Regions from separate parts of the Homo sapiens genome. Here region 2 is linked to region 1. Evidence: promoter capture Hi-C in human tissues and cell types (Jung and others, 2019). All regions are on one chromosome and are shown on one strand. Each heading gives the region's core, a stretch centred on a gene start or on the middle of the fragment in contact. The rest is flanking DNA. Distances are from core to core; before and after follow the strand shown.

Region 1 (6,013 bases), core at 3,118-5,617:
GAGCGTACCTTCTGCCTCTCACTGCCCGACGTGGAGCTCTCGCCATCCGGGGGCAACCATGCCGAGTACCAGGTGGCAGAGGGGGAGGGAGAGGCCGGACACAAGCTCAAGGTACGGCTGCCCCGGTTTGGCCTGGTGCGGGCCAAGGAGGGGGCCGAGGAGGGTGAGAAGGCCAAGAGCCCCAAACTCAGGCTGCCCCGAGTGGGCTTCAGCCAAAGTGAGATGGTCACTGGGGAAGGGTCCCCCAGCCCCGAGGAGGAGGAGGAGGAGGAGGAAGAGGGCAGTGGGGAAGGGGCCTCGGGTCGCCGGGGCCGGGTCCGGGTCCGCTTGCCACGTGTAGGCCTGGCGGCCCCTTCTAAAGCCTCTCGGGGGCAGGAGGGCGATGCAGCCCCCAAGTCCCCCGTCAGAGAGAAGTCACCCAAGTTCCGCTTCCCCAGGGTGTCCCTAAGCCCCAAGGCCCGGAGTGGGAGTGGGGACCAGGAAGAGGGTGGATTGCGGGTGCGGCTGCCCAGCGTGGGGTTTTCAGAGACAGGGGCTCCAGGCCCGGCCAGGATGGAGGGGGCTCAGGCTGCGGCTGTCTGAAGCCCCTAGTCAGATGGGGATCCCTTCTTGCCTTCCTTTCTCTACCCCCTCGCTGTTGTGTGTGTGATAACTAGCACTAACCCTAAGAGGGCCGGGAGGTGGGTGACTGACCAGGGCTGGCAGGGAGGCCTGCTCCTGTCTCTCTGGCAGGAGTGCCTGTACCCCACCAAGCCATGTGAATAAAATAATCTGGAAGTAGCCATGTATTTGTCTCCTCTGTGTGCATAGGGGGCAGGGAGGGGCAGGAGTGGGTATAGGGGAGATGCAGAGAAGGCAGTCTCCAAAGAGGAGGTTCTAGGGGTCGCCTGAGCCTGGCCTGAGGGGAACCTCTGGTGTGAGGGGAGAAACCGGTCATACCTGGTCTGAGAAGAGTCAGGGCGGGTTGGGCGCAGTGGCTCATGCCTGTAAGCCCAGCACTTGGGAGGCCAAAGCAGGAGGACTGCTTGAGCCCAGGAGTTTAAGACCAGCCTGGGAAACATAGGGAAACCTCATCCCTACAAAAAATACAAAAAATATCCAGGCATGGTGGCCCGTGCCTGTAATCCCAGCTACTCGGGGGGCTGAGGTGGGAGGATCACTTGAGCCCGGGAGGTCGAGGCTGCAGTGAGCCTTGATGGTGCCCCTGCACTCCAGCCTAGGCAACAGAGCCAGACTGTTTCAACAAAAACAAAAACAAAGACTCAGGATGGCCTTGGGACAGGCCGTGGTGGGAAGGGAGACGTCCCTAGCCCTTGAGAATTCCCAGGGGTTGTTAAAGAGGACTCTGGGATGTTCCCTGGCAGAGCACAGCTTCGGGACCCCTCTGCCAGGAAGCCTGCCTGTCCTGGGGGACCCACTCCTACCAGGCTGGTTGCTCCCCACCTGCCCTCTGCCGGTGAGGGCACTTCTGCACATCCTGGCCTTCTCTTTCCTGTCTGGCTGGTTTGACTGCCCTGTCCACTCTGGCCCCACCCAGGAAGGCTGCTCCTGGTCCCCTCAAAGCCTCTACCCCAGAAACACAGCCGCCTCTTGGAACTAGGTCCCAGGGTCCTCAGCACCTGTCAGTGCTGGTCTCAGCTCCCAGGGGCCATGGGCCATCCATCCCTGCCATCCCAATTCAGGATCTAAGTCCTGAGGCTCCCAGCAGGGCCTCCAGCCTCCTCCATGTCTCTCTGTGATGTCCCACACTGGACTAAGGAGACTCAATATCCAGTCCCAAGTCTCGCCCCGACAGCCCCCCACTCTCCTCACATCTCCCTATCCTGTCTCAGTGGATGAGGGGCCTGGCAGAATCCCCCACTCACTTGAGTACCTTGTCCCTTCCAGCCAGCCCTCCTCAGGTCACTGTCTCACCACACACTTTTTCTTTGCCCCCACCAAACATGGCAGGAGTTATCTACACTCACAGTGCACCCCCATTTCCAAGACCCCAGCATTTGGGGTTTTCCTCCTACCTTGTCTGTGTCAGCAGTGACCTCCCCGTGGCCACGCCTGAGGGTTTCCTTTGTCTCTCTTGTCCTGACTCTTCAAGGCCCCTTCGATCTTCCTGACACTTGCTCCTCTTCCCCACACCTCTCTCTCCCCGTGCTCCTTGGGCACCGGAGGTTCCTCCCGGGCCCTTGTCCACCCCCACACCCTCCCTAGGGTGCATCACCCTCCCCCATGGCTTCCACGCCTCCTCTCTGTGCTGACAACTCCCAAACTCTCTCCTGCATCCCCTTGGGGACCCAGCAGCTTCTGCACCCCTTCTCCAGAGGTCTCCTGGTTTTTAGGAGGTTGTGTGGGTGGTGGTTCAGAGTTTGGCGCTGGAGCCAGGCTGCTTAGGGTCAGAGGCTGTCTCTGGCAGTCACTTGAGTGACCTTAGGCATTTTATTTTATCATTTATTTATTTATTTTTATTTTTTGAGACAGAGTCTCACTCTGTTGCCCATGCTGGAGTGCAGTGGTGCAATCTTGGCTCACAGCAACCTCCGCCTTCCAGGTTCAAGCGATTCTCATACCTCAGCCTCCCGATCTCAGCCTCCCAAGTAGCTGGAACTACAGGTGTATACCACCATGCCCAGCTAATTTTTGTATTTTTAGTGGAGTTGAGGTTTTGTCATGTTGGCAAGGCTGGTCTCAAACTCCTGACCTCAGGTGATCCGCCCACCTTGGCCTCTCAAAGTGCTGGGATTACAGGCGTAAGCCACCACTCCTGGCCAGGCACTTTAAAAACTTCTTTGTGCCTTGATTTTCTCTTCCATAAAATCCCTACTTTGTATGTTGTAAGGATCAGATAAGACTTCTAAAGAACTTCATCCTTGTTTAAATGTTTTGATGTTACATTTTCTTTTACTTTTTTTTTTTTTTTTGAGACGGAGTTTCACTCTTGTTGCCCAGGCTGGAGTGCAATGGCGCAATCTTGGCTCACTGCAACCCCACCTCCCGCGTTCAAGCAGTTCTCATACCTCAGCCTGCCGACCTCAGCCTCTTGAGTAGCTGGGACTACAGGCATGTGCTAACACACCCGGCTAATTTTGTATTTTTAGTAGAGACGGGGTTTCTCCATGTTGGTCAGGCTGGTCTCGAACTCCCGACCTCAGGTGATCCACCTGCCTCAGCCTCCCAAAGTGCTGGGATTACAGGCATGAGCCACCGAGCCCGGCCCGCTGTTAAATATTCTAATCTGGCTGGAGTGGTGGCTCATGTCTACAATCCCAGCACTTTGGAAGGTTGAGGCAGGAGGATCACTTGAGGCCAGGAGGATCACTTGAGACCAGCCTGGACAACATAGTGAGACCCCATTTCTACAAAAAATTAAAAAGATAAATAAAAATGAACACTTTTTTTTTTTTTTTGAGATGGAGTCTCGCTCTGTCACCCAGGCTGGAGTGCAGTGGTGCAATCTCGGCTCACTGCAACCTCCACCTCCCGGGTTCAAGCTATTCTTCTGCCTTAGCCTCCCGAGTAGCTGGGACTACAGGCGCCCTCCACTATGCCTGGCTAATTTTTAGTATTTTTAGTAGAGACAGAGTTTCACCGTGTTAGCCAGGATGGTCTCGATCTCCTGACCTTATGATCTGCCTTCCTTGGCCTCCCAAAGTGCTGGGATTACAGGCGTGACCCACCGCACCCAGCCAAAAATAAATACATTTTCTAATTTGGCCTCAACATCTCCCCCAAGCTGCTTCTTATCCATGTCCATTTCTCGGGGACTGCCCCTTCATCCCAGAGCCCTAGGCCCGTTCTTAGACAGCTCCCGCCTTTCCCTCAAACCGTCGGTCTCACGGCTGCTTCTCCTGGCCTTTTGAGTGTCTCATCCATTGGCCTCGCCCTCTCCTCCCCAACCTCTCCCATCTGTGCCCTGTCCTGGACTCTTTCCCTGGCTTGGGGCTTCCACTCTTACCCGCTCCAACCTATCCCTTTTCATACAGTAACTTTCTGACACTCATATCTGACCCTGCCCTCCCCTGCTCAAAGCCCTTCTGTGGCTCCCCAGTGCCCTCAGAACAGAATCCAAACTCCTTAGCCTGGCATTCAGGGCCTTTTACAACCTCACCCCACAGTAGCCACAGACTGGGACAGGAGTTTTCTGAACACAGACACACACACATCACATCTCCCAAGCTCAAGAAGCCCACCTTTCCTCACTCCTGCCTTATCCCCATTCCTGTATGCCCAAGGCCCACGATTAGACCCCCCTCTGTCAACACTTCACCTGTTTGGTCTTTGCAAGATTCCGCCACTGGGCGGGGGAGGGGGCCCAGCCTGGTACCCCACCCCCACTCCAGCCAGGGCTCAGGTCTCCAACAACAGAACCAGAGCCACTCAACAGCGCTGGAACCCATTCGGTGGGGCCTGGGGCCCCTCATCCCAAGCCAGGAGGGTTTCTGGGGAGGGGTGCAGCCCCTGGCAGACTGACAGTGTGGCCTGGGGGTTTGGGGGTGCCAGGGAAGCAGGGGCCAACCTCATAGGAGGAGACACGAGTGCGGTTCTCTTTCCCCCACTGGGGGGCCTGCTGTGTCAGCAGCCAGGCGGGAGGCCTGGGCGGCAGAGCCAGTGGTACAGGGGCCTGGGCAGGGCGGTGTCTGGCAGCAGCGGCACCATGTCCACCATCCAGTCGGAGACTGACTGCTACGACATCATCGAGGTCTTGGGCAAGGGGACCTTCGGGGAGGTAGCCAAGGGCTGGCGGCGGAGCACGGGCGAGATGGTGGCCATCAAGATCCTCAAGAATGACGCCTACCGCAACCGCATCATCAAGAACGAGCTGAAGCTGCTGCACTGCATGCGAGGCCTAGACCCTGAAGAGGCCCACGTCATCCGCTTCCTTGAGTTCTTCCATGACGCCCTCAAGTTCTACCTGGTCTTTGAGCTGCTGGAGCAAAACCTTTTCGAGTTCCAGAAGGAGAACAACTTCGCGCCCCTCCCCGCCCGCCACATCCGTACAGTCACCCTGCAGGTGCTCACAGCCCTGGCCCGGCTCAAGGAGCTGGCTATCATCCACGCTGATCTCAAGCCTGAGAACATCATGCTGGTGGACCAGACCCGCTGCCCCTTCAGGGTCAAGGTGAGTAGGGGTCGTCTAGGGTGGCTGCGTCCCTAGTTCCTTGTCTTTTTCCCAGCTTCTTCCAGCCCTAGATTTTTTTTTTAATTTTTTAAAATTATTATTATTATTATTTTTGAGACGGAGTTTCATTCTGTTACCCAGGCTTGAGTGCAGTGGCACAATCTCAGCTCACTGCAACTCCGCCTCCTGGGTTCAAGTGATTATCCTGCCTCAGCCTCCCGAGTTGCTGGGATTACAGGGATGCGCCACCACGCCCAGCTAATTTTTTTTTTGTACTTATCAGAGACGGGGTGATGATGGCATGATCTTGGTTCACTGCCTCCGCCTCCCGGGTTCAAGCGATTCTCCTGCCTCAGCCTCCTGAGTAGCTGGGAATACAGGTGCCCGCCACCCATGCCCGGCTAATTTTTGTATTTTTAGTAGAGATGGAGTTTCGCCATGTTGGCCAGGCTGGTCTCAAACTCCTGACCTTGTGATCCACCTGCCTCAGCCTCCCAAAGTGCTGGGATTACAGGCGTGAGCCACCACGCCCAGCCAATTTTTGTGTTTTTTGGTAGAAACAGGATTTCATCATGTTGCCCAGGCTGGTCTCAAAGTCCTGAGTTCAAGCAATCTGCCCACCTTGGCCTCAACAAAGTGCTGGAATTACAAGTGTGAGCCACCATGCCCAGTCCTCTGTCTGCTTTTGAGTTTGATACTGTCTGGATGCTTCTGAACCAGGGGCACCCTGAGGGCAAGGCTGGGGCTGACTTAATCATCGCTGTGTCCCTGACATCTCCCAGCACTGCAGTCATGGAGCCAGTGCTAAATGAATGCTTGCCAGAGACACAGAGACAGAAAAAGGTGGATTATTCTGCCCCAAGAGGTGGAAGGACAGAGACCCAGGGAAGCAGGGACTTCCAC
Region 2 (6,637 bases), core at 3,135-5,634, 150 kb before region 1:
GATGGAGTTTCGCTCTTTTTGCCCAGGCTGGAGTGCAATGGCATGATCTCGGCTCACTGCAACCTCTGCCTCCTCAGTTCAAGTGATTCTCCTGCCTCCGCCTCCCGAGTAGCTGGGATCACAGGCACACATCACCACGCCCGGTTAATTTTGATTTTTTTTTTTTTTTTTTTTGAGGCAGAGTCTCGCTCTTTCGCCCAGGCTGGAGTGCAATGGTGCTATCTTGGCTCACTGCAAGCTCCAAGCTCTGCCTCCTGGGTTCACGGCATTCTCCTGCCTCAGCCTCCCAAGTAGCTGGGACTACAGGTGCCCACCACCACGCCTGACTAATTTTTTTTGTATTTTTAGTAGAGATGGGGTTTCACCATGTTAGCCAGGATGGTCTCGATCTCCTGACCTTGTGATCTGCCTGCCTTGGCCTTCCAAAGTGCTGGGATTACAGGCGTGAGCCACCACGCCTGGCCAATTCTGAATTTTTAATAGAGATGGGGTTTCACCATGTTGGCCAGGCTAGTCTTGAACTCTTGACTACAGGTGATCCACCCACCTCGGCCTCCCAAAGTGCTGGGATTACAGGAGTGAGCCACTGCGCCTGGCCAAGGCATTCTTTTCTACACATTAGGTTGGCAAAAATGTAAAAGACTTATAGTATCTAATGCTGGCAAAGATGTTGGGAGATGGGCACACTCAGCCACTGTCAGTGGTGGCATAAATTGGTAGAGCCTTTTTAGAAGGCAATTTGGCAGGTCTTTGCATCAAAATGCAAAATATGCATCTGCTTGACCCAGCACTTGCATTTCTAGTAATATAACTAAAGAAATACTGTCATAGGCCAAGTGCAGTGGCTCACGCCTGTAATCCCAGCACTTTGGGAGGCCAAGGCAGGCAGATCACAAGGTCAGGAGTTTGAGACCAGCCTGGCCAACATGGTGAAACCCTGTCTCTACTAAAAATACAAAAATTAGCTAGGCGTGGTGATGCACGCCTGTAATCCCAGCTACTTGGGAGGCTGAGGCAGGAGAATTGCTTGAACTTGGGAGGTGGAGGTTGCAGTGAGCCGAGATCACGTCGCTGCAATTCAGCCTGGGTGACACAGCAAGACTCCATCCTGAAAAAAAAATTTTTAAATAATAATAATAAAAATTTTTTTAAGAAAAAAAAGAAATACTGGCACAGATGCACAAAGTTGTAGTATCACAGCAGAGTTTATAATGGGAAAAAACTGGAAGCAACCTCAATGCCCATCAAGAGAGAAATGGTTAAGTCAGGTGCAGCAGCTCATGCCTGTAATCCCAGCTACTTAGGAGGTTGAGGTGGGAGAAATGCTTGAGCCCAGGAGTTTGAGACCAGCCTGGGCAACACAGCTAGACCCCCTCTCTTAAAAAAAAATAAAAAATAAAAAAGAGTAAAATGGTTAAACAAATCCAGACCAGTATGGAAAAATAGCCAAGTGTTACTGTTAAGAAGAAAAAGCATGCTGGGTGCGGTGGCTCACGCCTGTAATCCTAGCACTCTGGGAGGCCAAGGCGCGTGGATCACCTGAAGTCAGGAGTTTGAGACCTGCCTGGCCAACATGGTGAAACCCCATCTCTACTAAAAACACAAAAAATTAGCCAGGCGTGATGGCAGACACCTGTAATCCCAGCTACTCGGGAGCCTGAGGCAGGAGAATCACTTGAACCCGGGAGGCAGAGGTTGCAGTGAGCCGAGATCATGCCACTGCACTCCAGCCCGGGCAACAAAAGCAAAACTCCATCTCAAAAAAAAAAAAAAAAAAAAAAAAGCCGGGCACAATGGCTCATGCCTGTAATCCCAGCACTTTGGAAGGCTGAGGCGGGCGGATCACGAGGTCAAGAGATAGACACCATGCTGGCCAACATGGTGAAACCCAGTCTCTACTAAAAATACAAAAAATTAGCCGGGCATTGTGGCAGGCGCCTGTTATCCCAGCTACTTGGGAGGCTGAGGCAGGAGAATTGCTTGAACCCGGGAGGCGGAGGTTGCAGTGAGCTGAGATCGCGCCATTGCGCTCCGGCTTTGGCAAAAAGAGCGAAACTCAGTCTCAACAACAAACAAACAAAAAAAAAAAAAAAAAAGAGGAAGAAGAAGAAGCAATTTAGAACCTACCTATGAATATAAATTTATAGTGGATTGCACATGCATAAAAATTCCCTGGAGTAAACAAGAAGTTCATAACAGATGGTACTTACTGGGGGAGGGGATGAGAACTTAATGAATGGGGAACAGGGATGAAGGCGATAATTTTCCCATGGGATTTCCCTAGAGGTTTTGATGTCTTCACCATGAAAATTTATTTATTCAAAAATTGAAATTAAACATGAAAAGCAAATAATATAAAAACATTAAACATCCATATAGGTACACTTGTAAATGCACAGAAAGAGGTCTAGATGGATGCACACCAAATAACTGAGGCTCTCTTTGGGATGTGGGATTGGGAGGCAGATAGGAGTGAGACTTTATGTTTTACTGAAGACTGCTCGGTTAGTAAAATTTTTTCCCAAAAGAATATATTCATATATTACCCTTGTAATTCTAAACAGATGGAGGAAAGCTAGAGAAGAAAACAAAATAACAATTAAAAAATTAAGTGGTAGCAGATTACCACAAATGACTGCAAAACAAAACCCCAAACTCAAGAACCAAGCCAAGACTTCTTGATTCAAAGTTCTGTAGTGCAGAGTTGTTGGTTTTGCCTGCCCAAAATCCATCCTCTCCTTCCAAATACATCAAAACTCACTCTCAGGTCCTGAGCTTCCTGAAGGGCAAATGAAACCTAGAGAGTCATGGGTAATCACATGACCCAAGTGGGGCCAAGCAGAACACTGAAAACACCCTGGTCATAAAGATTGGGTCAGATATGAGCACGTAACCTTAGATGGGCCAATGAAAACTCTTCCCACTTTTTCTTTTTTGGTAGAGGTGGGGTCTCGCTGTGTTGGCCAGGCGGGTCTCCAACTCCTGGCCTCAAGCAATCCTCCCATCTTGGCCTCCTAAAGTGTGGGATTACAGGTGTGAGCCACTGTGCCCGGCCACTCTCCCCATTTTCGCCAGGAAAATGTGTGTGCACAGAAGAGATGCTCTCTTTCCCATGGGCTTCCTAAGTTGGGAGGAGGTAGGCCGGGCATCCTGGGGTCATCCTGCCAACATCAGGGACTCCCTGACCATGAGGCCAACACAGAAGAAAGCGGTGCTCAGAAATGAAGACAAGGAGATTTGTGAAGACGTAATTTGAGTTACTGATCACTCCACCCCTCAGACCCCGAGCCAGCACCTTCATAAATTGAAGACATAATTTGTGAATTATGAAGACATAATTAGCTGAGATCGCGCCACTGCACTCCAGCCTGGGCAACAGAGTGAGACTCTGTCTCAAAAAACAAAAAAACAAAAACAAAAAAAAAAGGAAAGAAAGAAAGGATGGGGTCCCTTGCCTTGAGTCCCAATAAGGCAAGGACTGGGACTGTATAGTCCCTGAATGTGCACTCCTCTCCTAGGCCATGCTGAGCTGGATACAAAAACATGGGACAGAGAAGCAGAACAGGGGGGAGGAGGGTGTTTCCTTGGCCAGAGAAAGAGCTTTGCTTAGGGTGGGGGTGGGCCTGGAAAAAGTGTGGGGTCCCCAGGGACAGAGCCTGGCAGCTGCAAAGCCTCTAGTGCATTTTCTCATCTGGCAGGAGACCAGTCCCCCATCTCTCCAAGCAGGAGCCTGTGGCTGAGGCCGACCAGCTGGCCAGGTCCCTGAGGGCTGGGGAGCCAGGACTTGAGACTCCACCATCTGGCTTCTTGGCCAGGAAGCACAGCTTGGCAACAGGCCCCGAGAGAGGATTCTGGGTCACGTGGCCAGGACCTGGGAGGTGGGGTCCCAGAGAGCCTGCTGCAGCAGCGGGTGTGGTACGGGATGAGGGAGAGGACACAAGGAGGACATGAGGAACACGGGAAGGAGGCAGAGACAGAGAAGTCAAATAAAAAGAGACAGAGAGACTGGGGTGGTGGCTCATGCCTGTAATCCCAGAACTTTGGGAGGCCAAGGTAGGCAGATCACCTGAGGTCAGGAGTTCAAGACCAACCTGGCCAACATGGTGAAACCCCATCTCTACTAAAAATACAAAAATTAGCCGGGCGTGGTGGCTCACGCCTGTAATCACAACTACTTGGGAGGCTGAGGCAGGAGAATCGCTGGAATCCGGGAGGCGGAGGTTGCAGCGAGCTGAGACTGTGCCATTGCACTCCAGCCTGGGTGACAGAGTGAGATTCCGTCTCAAAAAGAAAAAATAAAAATAAAAAAATACAAAAATTAGCCAGGCATGGTGGCGGGTGCCTGTAATCCCAGCTACTGGGGAGGCTGGGGAATCGCTTGAACCTGGGAGGCGGAGATTGCAGTGAGCCAAGATCGCGCCACTGCACTCCAGCCTGGGTGACAGAGTAAGATTCTGTCTCAAAATAAATAAAGAGACAGAGAGAAGGGAGTGAGAGAGTAGGACAGAGAGGGACACAAAGGGAAGAGAGAGACACAGAGATGGCGACGGGAGGACAGGAGAGAGGCTGAGGGGGACAGATCGCTCACACACTGCACACCACTACACCCCTCAGACCCCGAGCCAGTACCTCCCTCAGCCCAGCCTGGCCCCAGTGCCCTAAGGGTGGATGGGACAGCCAGGAAACGTGCCAGGCTGGATGGCAGCCAACCCCTCTCCTGTGTATGCCCCAGGGGACAGCAGGGCCTTGGCAGGTCCCTTCCCCAGTAGCAGCTCCTGAGGGGCAGCTGGGCTCCGTCTGGGTGCCCTGGCCCACACAGTCACTTCCTGCCTCGGGCTCCCTCTGCTGGGAAAAGGGCCCAGGAGTCTCGTGCTGGAGCCTGCCTCTGGCACCCATCACTGTGTGACCCCAGGGCCACTCCCTTGTCTCCTCTGGGCTTCAGCCCCTCCCTTGAACAATGGGGACCCCCATCTCATGGTTTGCTGGGCTTGGTTGAGACTGAACCCCCTACAGGGAGGGAAGAGCTAACTCTGTACTCTGGCTAAAGCAGGAGGCCCCAACTCCTTCCTCTAAAACCTAAATAGTACAAAAGAAGGTCAAAGATGGTCAAGCTCGCCAGTAGCATTGGAAAAAAATACAAATACACACACTGCAGTGAGATACCACTTCCCAGCCATCGGACTGAGAAAGATCTAAAATGTCTGACAAAACCAAGTGTTGGCAAGGACGAGAGGAAACAGGAGCTCATGTGTACTGCTGGGGAGAGAGTGAGCAGCCACAGAAGGACCTGGGCAGGCAATTTGGCAAAAGCAAGTGAGCTAAAGATGGTTCTAACTTTTAACACTATATAAATATTTCATTTACCACCTCCAAATTACTTTTCTTTTTTTTTTTTTTTTTTTTTTTTTTGAGATGGGGGTCTCACTCTGTCGACCAGATTGGAGTGCAGTGACACGATCACAGCTCACTGCAGCTTCAACCTCCTGGGCTCAAGTGATCCTCCCACTTCAGCCTTCTGAGTAGCTGGGAACACAGGCATGTGAATCTCGCTATGTTGCCCAGGCTGGTCTGGAACACCTGGGCTCAAGCGATCCTCCTGCCTTGGCCTCACAAAGTGCTGGGATTACAGGCATGAGCCACTGTGCCCAATCATCCATGTTGCTTTTTTAAAATGTGTTTTGGGGCCAGGTGCAGTGGCTCACGCGAATAATCCCAGCACTTTGAGGGGCTAAGGCAGGAGGACTGTTTGAGCCCAGGAGTTTGTGACCAGCCTGGGTAACATAGTGAGACCCCATCTATCAAAAAATAAAAATAAATTAAAATTAAAAAGCAGCATGGAGAGGGGTAAATGCCCCAAATGGAATATGAACAAAAACAAATGAAGTAACCGTGTATCACATAAGTAACAACCAAAGGGAAGGTGAAACAACTAGCTTTTGAAAACAGTAGAGTGATGGTGATATGCTCTCAGTTTTATGACAGTTAAAATTAAAGACTGGCCAGGCACGGTGGTTCATGCCTATTATCCCAGCACTTTGGGAGGCCGAGGCGGGCGGATCACTTGAGGTCAGGAGTTTGGGACCAGCCTGGACAACATGGCGAAACCCCATCTCTACTAAAAATACAAAAATTAGCCGGGTATGGTGGCGGGTGCCTATAGTCCCAGCTACTCGGGAGGCTGAGGCAGGAGAATCACTTGAACCCAGGAGGCAGAGGGTTGCAGTGAGCCGAGATTGTGCCACTGCGCTCCAGCCTGGGTGACAAGAACAAAACTTGGTCTAAAAAAAAAAAAATTAAAGACCTGTGAATAAATACTGAATCTTAGATTTGTTGGGTCAGCAGTTCTGAAACCACTTAATGCATTATGTCTTTTCACCTTCACAATGTCCTTATGAGGTCAGAAATATCATTATGCCCATTTTACTGAAGAAGAAAATGAGGCACAGCCAGGCGCGGTGGCTCATGCCTGTAATCCCAGCACTTTGGGAGGCGGAGGTGGGTGGATCACTTGAGGTCAGGAGTTTGAGACCAGCCTGGCCAACATGGTGAAACCCCGTCTCTACTAAAAATACAAAAATTAGCCAGGCGTGGTGGCAGGTGCCTGTAATCCCAGCTACTCAGGAGGACGCTGAGGCAG

The links. Contacts are between HindIII fragments. The study calls those that stand out against the background at their distance.
Region 2: a fragment that was not itself captured here is called in contact with the fragment with the promoter of HIPK4 in region 1 in 1 of the 25 tissues and cell types used here (spleen).

Annotation. Positions count from the first base shown.
Region 1 is chr19:40,388,535-40,394,547 of GRCh38, reverse strand. HIPK4 (homeodomain interacting protein kinase 4) reads left to right here and starts at 4,367. Exons shown (of 4, transcript NM_144685.5): 1 at 4,367-5,110. The coding sequence starts at 4,646. PRX (periaxin) reads left to right here. Exons shown (of 7, transcript NM_181882.3): 7 at 1-780. The coding sequence ends at 582. RefSeq lists enhancers at 3,915-4,464, 4,465-5,014. The HindIII fragment of the contact is 19,093 bases long and covers 1-6,013 here.
Region 2 is chr19:40,539,587-40,546,223 of GRCh38, reverse strand. The region is part of intron 20 of SPTBN4 (spectrin beta, non-erythrocytic 4); the gene reads right to left. Among named protein-coding and RNA genes, the nearest start is that of SHKBP1, 34 kb to the left of the region's middle. The HindIII fragment of the contact is 8,028 bases long and covers 371-6,637 here.